Regions from separate parts of the Homo sapiens genome. Here region 2 is linked to region 1. Evidence: promoter capture Hi-C in 16 types of primary human blood cells and fetal thymus (Javierre and others, 2016). All regions are on one chromosome and are shown on one strand. The core of a region is centred on a gene start or on the middle of the fragment in contact, and the rest is flanking DNA. Distances in the headings are between cores, read along the strand shown.

Region 1 (3,876 bases), core at 998-3,497:
GAAATTTAACATTTATTTTAAAGATAAATCTTAATGGTCTTATGATAAGTGTAATAAGTCCATCATAAAAAGTATGAATCCACTTATACGAGTTAGCTAAAGTAGTTGCACTTTTAAAAAGAGAAAATAGAATGGCATTTGTAAAGGGCCAGTCAATGGGGAAAACAGGTAGTCGATTCATGTATAGTATGTATTCATTTTGCAAGATAAAAATGTTCTGGTGATATGTTGCCAACAATGGCAATATACTTAACATGGTCTAACTATTAATATAAAATTAAAATATTTAAGATTGTAAAAAAAAAACAGAAGCTTTACATCCATATGTGATTTAATCTTCATAACACCATATGGCAGCTGTTATTCTACTTTACAGATGAGAAAACACACCTAGGGACATTAAGTGATTTGTTCAAGGTCAAAAACATAATGAGTGCTGGATCTAGGATTTGGATTCAGGTCTGTCTGGTCAGAGCCCAATCAGTGAGCATTCTTTGTACCTCAGGCTCACATATTTGTCATTTACAACTTAAATAAAGTAACAAAAGTTGGGCAAAGTAAATATTTTCATTTTGACAAAACCTTTCTCTGGTAAGGAAGTTTCACTCAGCTAACAGGTTTTGCTCAGAACTGTAATGGAGCCTAGATTATGACAACCTGCTTTATCAGCTTTCTTTACTGGATCTGCTAGATGTGCCTGTCATGATTAACCTGCTTTCTACCAGGTGCTTGAATTAGGCTAGAAGTGCTGTGATGACACTTTCAGTATCAACCTAAGTTCTGCAGGTGAAAAGACAGTGACCTGGATGACGTTGTCATTTCACCTACCCAAGACCTTAAATGCCAAGCTCGAATCCCTATCTTCAACGCTCATTATCTCATAATCACATACCTTCAGCCTACAAACCTGTATTGACTTCTCATCAAGCCCTATGTCAGGCTCTGGCAATACAAAGAGGAATTAGAATGACCCTGTTCTTCGAGGAGTTTATATCTAGATGGGGCATAGACACAAAAACCTAACACATAACAGAGGGTTGTAAGTGCTATGATTTTGTTAATCTGTGGAGTGCAGGGTTACAAAAGAGTGGCATCACACCCAGTTGTAAGTTCAGGGAAGACTTACTGGAGGAGGTGGTACTTGTCCTGAACTAGATGAAGAGGTTGGGAAAGCAGATGCAAAGATAAGGAGGGAAGAGAGAACTTTCGGATAGTTGTTTGTCAGGAGCTTAGCATGTGAGGGATAGAAGGGGTTAGGGATGAAGCATAGAGTTTTTCAGACACCAGTCATGAGAGTCGAATGCTGGACAAAGTAGATGGGTCTTGAATCTGTGGAAAATGGAGAATTATTGCGGAGTTATTGGCAGGGGTGTAATATTGTCAGATTTACATATTAGAAAGAACACTCTATAAATAAAGGCAGAGTGATCAGCTAGATTATTTGTAGAAGTTCATGTAAACCTCAGTGAGATCTGAGCCAGACTGAGTTGAGAAGGAAGGGCTGGATTCTGTCATGAGAATAAGAGAAATGGAAGAATCTGAAGTGATTCTAGATTTTTGGCATGGCTGACTGGGTGGATGAAAATTCCATTTGTAGACCTGTAGGGGCAGCAGTCTGGGGGACAAAAGGATGAGTTTTGGACTTGTTGAGTTTGAACGATCTGGAAGACATTCACATGGATATGTCAAAAAAGGCATTTCAAGTGTCCAGTTTAGGAGACAGATGGGCTGGAGATTTGATGTTCATCAGTACTACCTGTTAGTGATCTTATAAGGATTAAATAATATGCATATGGAAAATATATATATACTTGCCATTTAGTTGTTTGTTGAGCATACTGAATATTTGCATACAAAGGTATACTTACAACACTTTTTTCACAAGCACAGCTGAAATAAACTATAACAACTACCACTTATACTATTTACCATAAATTGTGCTAAATGTTTTTACTTATTATCTAGTGTTTATGGTAACCCTTTGATATAGGAGTAGTTATTCCCATTTTTTTTCTTATGAGTAAACTGACTAGGAGATATAGTGTAGGTTGGCCAGGGCTACACAGTAGCAGAACTGGGGAATTCCAAGGCCAGTGTTCTTTCTTATGACGCATTTTCTGTCTTGGGTTACAACAGCACTAACGACAGGTAGCATTGCACACAGGCAGCTGCTGGGAAGTCTCCGCCCCCATCTCTGGCTAGGAGCCCTGCAGGTGATGATAAACAAGCTCCTGTGGAATTGTGGGTAGACACTGGACTTGTAAACGAAAAGCTTCATAAGTCCCTCTTTGCTTAGTACTTTTCTCGTCCTTTCCCCAGGGTGCACGTAACCCTCAAGCACTAGGACCGTGCGGAATCCAGGCTGCGATGGCACCTTCATTTACCGCCCGCATTCAGTTGTTCCTCTTGCGGGCGCTAGGCTTTCTCATAGGCTTAGTAGGCCGAGCAGCTTTAGTCTTAGGGGGTCCAAAGTTTGCCTCAAAGACCCCTCGGCCGGTGACTGAACCATTGCTTCTGCTTTCGGGGATGCAGCTGGCCAAGCTGATCCGACAGAGAAAGGTGAGAATGCAATTCAGAAGAGGCTGGAGGGACAGGTCTTTTAGCAGGATCCAGGAAGCTTAGTGGTGGCGGTGGTTGTGGTTTCCTTTCCATTCTCTACTAGGGCGACTTAGGAGAGGCATTTATTGGGGATGAAGGGAGACTTCTGGGTGTTGTAGTACGTTTATTTTTACCAAGGACATTTACTGTGGGCATGGGTTGGACTATTTTGGTACCGTCATAGTCCTTCCTATCCATTTGTCCTATTTGTGCATAATTACTGTGTGTGGGGTAAAGCAGGTGTGAATTTCAAACTGATTCTCAGCTATGGAAAGTCAGTCTCTCTCTTTCTCTCTCCCTCTCCCTTTCTCTCTCTCTATTCTTCCGTCTCTCACAGGCCCCAGATCAACCTGCTGCTTACCATTCAACCAATTCTTTTTAAAATTGATTTAAAGTAAAAGTAGTACTTGGTCTAGGATAGTAAAAGCTGCGTCTACCATATATTTATTGCATAGTATATGTGAAATACTCTGCCTGGGTACTTAAACATATTCTATTTCACGGATGCAGTTATATAGGCAATATTCATATTTTATGCATAAGGAAACTGAAGTAAAATGATTTGCACAAAAATTGTTGAAAGTTCTAAATTAAAAAAATTAAGCAGCTCATTCGTTCTCTATAGAATTGTGCAGGCAGGACTATTCATCTCTGTCATATAAGTGATTGGTTACCTGGAGATCTTGAGCTACAGTCTAGTATTGTTTATTTATACTCTGCTTGTTTTCACCTCTCTGCTGTTTCATTTGTTTTTCGTCATTGCTTTATTTCCAGAATCTACAATACTACTTAACAAAGAATAGGCATGCAGCAAATACTATCTCAGTATGTGCTCCTGAATGTATGAATTATTAATATTTGTATTGTACTCCTGGTTACCTTTCAAAGACATATCCTGTCTTCTTGCCGTACCCCCTCCCCAGCCTCTACCCACTCATGCATGCTTTTCTACCAGTTAGGGAGGCAATGGGATGTATTCGGTTGGTGCAAAAGTAATTGTGATTTTGTAATTGAGATTTTGACATTACTTTTAATGGCAAAAATCACAATTACTTTTGCACCAACCTAATAGTAGAAAGATGATATATTTCAAATTTTGGACTGTCTGTTCATGGCTCTGTGACCTTGTGCCACACCAATAGCAGATAATACATATCAAGAACCTGGCACATAGAAGATTGTGTAACATAATGATTAGAAGGATGGACTCTAGAGTCAGACTCCCTGGGTTCAGAAATCCTAGCTTTTCTACGATCTAGCTCTGTGATCTTAAAAACA
Region 2 (3,908 bases), core at 894-3,393, 470 kb before region 1:
TTTTCTGACTGAAATGGTTGATGTGCTTGTTTTTTGTAATTTTCTACTTTCCTTCTAAAATGCTTAGTATTGAACAAATAGAATATCCTAATTAAAAACAGTAATAAATATTATGGTGAAAAAATACAAGTAAAATGGGAAAACATTAGATAGCAGCTTTCAATATTTCATATAGTTCATAAATGTTTCAGGAATTACAAGGTTATAGAAAAAAATTTATAGACTATAATAATTTCCAGGGATATAAAAAAATAAAGCTTCTACCTTTGAATTGTAATAATAAAAGATAAACAGACTTGAAAGCATATATTATATCTGAAAATGTCAGATAAACTTGGCTTATAAATTAAAATATAAAATAATAATACAATTTGTTCAAATAAGTAATTAAAGCTTACATTGTAAAATGAATATTTAGAGAGATTGTGAAACCTGAGTATTTTACCCAATCCTCTGAAATTAGTCCCTAGCATCAGAATTAAAGAATCTGAAAAATCACAAATGGAGGTATGGTGACATTTATGTATATTCTAGAGTTATGTTATGCACACTTAATAAATTATAGACAGTTATTTTAAAGATTGTATAATATTACTAATCACACATTAGAGTTTTAAAACTTCTGAGCCAGGCTGAACATCACAAACAGTAAACACAGACTTCTTTAAAAGGACATCTGGTGAAAGGCATTTTATGCATCAGAAGGCACAGTATTATAAAGATGACAACACTCTTCAAAATAATCAAACTATTCAATGCAACCCTTATCAAAATTAAGGTTGCCTACTTTGAAGAAATTTATAACCTGATTCTAAAGTTCATATGAAAATGTAATGGACCCAGAATAGCCAAAACAATCTTGAAGTATACAAAGTTTGAAGAGTCACATTTCCAAATTTTAAAACTTATTACAAAGCTACAATAAACAAGTCTATGTGGTACTGGCATAGGATATAAATATTGATCAATGAAATAGAATCCAAAGTCCAGACATAAGCCCTCACAAAAGTTAATTTGCAGCCAATTAACTTCTGAGAAGGAGGCAAGACAAAAGGGGAAATAACTATTTTCAATAAATGGTACTGGGACAACTTGGTATCTACATGCAAAAAAAAAACAAAAAAACAAAAAACTTCCACCCCTACCTCATGCAAAATACAAAAATTAACTCAAAATAGGCCAAAGACTCAAATATAAGGGTTACACTATAAAACTCTTGGGAGGAAATATAGAATAAATTTTTGTGACCTTGAATTAAGTATTAGATTTTTAATTCTTACACCAAAGCACAAGTTAATAAAGGAAAAAAAAGATAAACTGGACATAATTAAAATTGAAAAAAAATTTGCTTCAGTGAACACAGTCAAGAAATTTGAAAGACAGCCACAGTGCAAGATTATTTTTGCAAATAATATGTCTCATAAATGACTTGTATCTAAAATATATAAGACCAGGCATGGTGGCTCATCCTGTAATCCCAGCACTTTGGGAGGCTGAGGCAGGGGGATCACTTGAGGTCAGGAGTTTGACACCAGCCTGGCCAACATGATGAAACCCCATCTTTACTAAAAATACACACACAAAAAAAATTAGCAGGGTGTGGTGGTGTATGCCTGTAATCTTAGCTACTCAGGAGGCTGAGGTGGGAGGATAGCTTGAACCTGGGAGGCAGAGGTTGCAGTGAGCCAAAATTGCACCAATGCACACTCCAGCCTAAGCAACAGGGCAAGACGCCATCTCAAAAAATAAAACAAAATAATAAAATAAAATAAACAGTAATTACCGCTAAATAATAAAACAAACAATAAACCAATTTTATAACGAAAGGATCTGAATAGATTCTTCTGTAAAGAAGACATACAAATCACAAATTACACATGAGAAGATGCTCAACACTATTAGTCATCAGGGAAATGCAAATCAAAATCACAAAGAGACAGCAATTTATACCCAGTAGGATACTTATTATTATTATTATTTTAAATAGCAAAATAATAAATGTTAGAATGTGGGAAAACAGGAACATGCGGCATTGTTGCTGGTAATGATAAATGTGCAGCCACTGGGCAAACAATTTTGTGGTTCCTCTCTAAGTTAAAAATAATGGCTGGGCGTGGTGGCTCACACCTGTAATCCCAGCACTTTGGGAGGCTGAGGTGGATGGATCACCTGAGGTCAGGAATTCGAGACTAGCCTGACCAACATGGTGAAACCCCATCTCTACTAAAAAATATAAAAAATTAGCCCAGCTACTCAGGAGGCTGACGCAGGAGAATCCCTTGAACCTGGGAGGCAGAGGTTGCAGTGAGCCGAGATCCCACCACTGCACTCCAGCCTGGGCATGACAGAGCAAGACTCCATCTCAAAAAAAAGAAAAAAAAAAGAAATAACATGCTACCCAGCAATTTTACTCCTGATACATAGCCAAAATAACTAAAAAACAGGTGTTCAAACAAAAATTGTACAGGACGGTTTACAGCAGAAATATTTGTACTAGGAAAATGTGGAAACAACTCAAATGCCCATCAACTGGTGAATGGAAAACAAAATGTATATTCACACAATGGAATATTAATTTAGTCATATACAGGAAATAAGTATACATACTGCCAGAATAAACCTTGAAAGCATTATGCCAAAAAAAAAAAAAAGGAAAATAATTCTTGCCTGGTGGTCTGGGAAAAGCAAAAGCATTATGCTATGTGAAAAAAGCCAGTCACACAGTACCATATATTATATAATTTCATATAAATAAAATGTCCACATGAGGCAAGTCTATAGGTTCAGAAAAAATATTTGCTTAAGGATGGAGTTTCCCTTAAGTTATGATTGAGAATTGATGTCTAAGGACTGTGTGATTTTATTCAGGGTTAATGAAAATGCATAAGAATTGACTGTAGTGATATTTACACATATCTATGCTTATCTATAAATATCCAAAACCATTGAATTGTACACTTTAAATCACGGATTGTATTATATGTGCATATCTCAAGTTGTTTAAAACAATAGATGTCTGGCTAGCACCTCCCAAGGCAGCCTCTCCCAACTTTTATTTTATTTTTTTGAGACGGAGTTTCACTCTTGTTGCCCAGGCTGGAGTGCAATAGTGCAATCTTGGCTCACTGTAACCTCCACCTCCCAGGTTCAAGGAATTCTCCTGCCTCAGCCTCCCGAGTAGCTGGGATTACAGGCATGCACCACCACACCCAGCTAATTTTGTATTTTTGGTAGAGACAGGGTTTCTCCATGTTGAGGCTGGTCTCGAACTCCTGACCTCAGGTGATCCGCCCGCCCCTTGGCCTCCGAAAGTGCCGGGATTACAGGCGTGAACCACCATGCCTGGCCAGCCTCTCCCAACTTATTAAATTCCTATGCAGCAAGATGGCAAAATGGAATTCTTCAGCACTCATAACCTTGCAGAAGTATCCATTTGAACAACTATTCATGCGCAAAATTACCTTTACAAGGCCTAAAGAAACCAAGTGAGAGATTACAGCACCTGGGTGTAGCAAATAAAGAAAGATGCATTTAAGAGTGGAGAAAGGGCAGATCATTTGAGGTCAGGAGTTTGAGACCAGCCTGGCCAACATGATGAAACCCTGTTTCTACTAAAAATACAAAAATTAGCCGGATGTGGCAGCAGGCACTTGTAATCCCAGCTACTTGGGAGGCTGAGGCAGGAGATTCGCTTGAATCTGGGAGGCGGAGTTTGCAGTGAGACAAGATTGCGCCACGCACTCCAGCCTGAGCGACAGAGCAAGACTCCATTTCCAAAGGGGAAAAAATAATAGAGTGGAAAAAGGACAGTTTTACATTATGCACATCACCCCTCCCCCAACTCTAAGTAGCACAGCATGGAGAAAGATACACATCTATGAGGGGAAGAAGAAAAAGCTTAGTACTGG

Evidence for each region. Contacts are between HindIII fragments. The CHiCAGO score rates a contact against its expected background, and 5 or more counts as called.
Region 2: a fragment that was not itself captured here is called in contact with the fragment with the promoter of FAAH2 in region 1 in 2 of 17 cell types (activated CD4 T cells and total CD4 T cells); the score reaches 5.6 in activated CD4 T cells.

The regions. Positions count from the first base shown.
Region 1 is chrX:57,284,459-57,288,334 of GRCh38, forward strand. It overlaps FAAH2 (fatty acid amide hydrolase 2), which reads left to right and starts at 2,248. Exons shown (of 11, transcript NM_174912.4): 1 at 2,248-2,559. The coding sequence starts at 2,368. The HindIII fragment of the contact is 1,960 bases long and covers 311-2,270 here.
Region 2 is chrX:56,817,879-56,821,786 of GRCh38, forward strand. NBDY (negative regulator of P-body association) reads left to right here. Exons shown (of 3, transcript NM_001348129.2): 3 at 1-1,301. Among named protein-coding and RNA genes, the nearest start is that of NBDY, 91 kb to the left of the region's middle. RefSeq lists a silencer at 2,278-2,572. The HindIII fragment of the contact is 3,504 bases long and covers 392-3,895 here.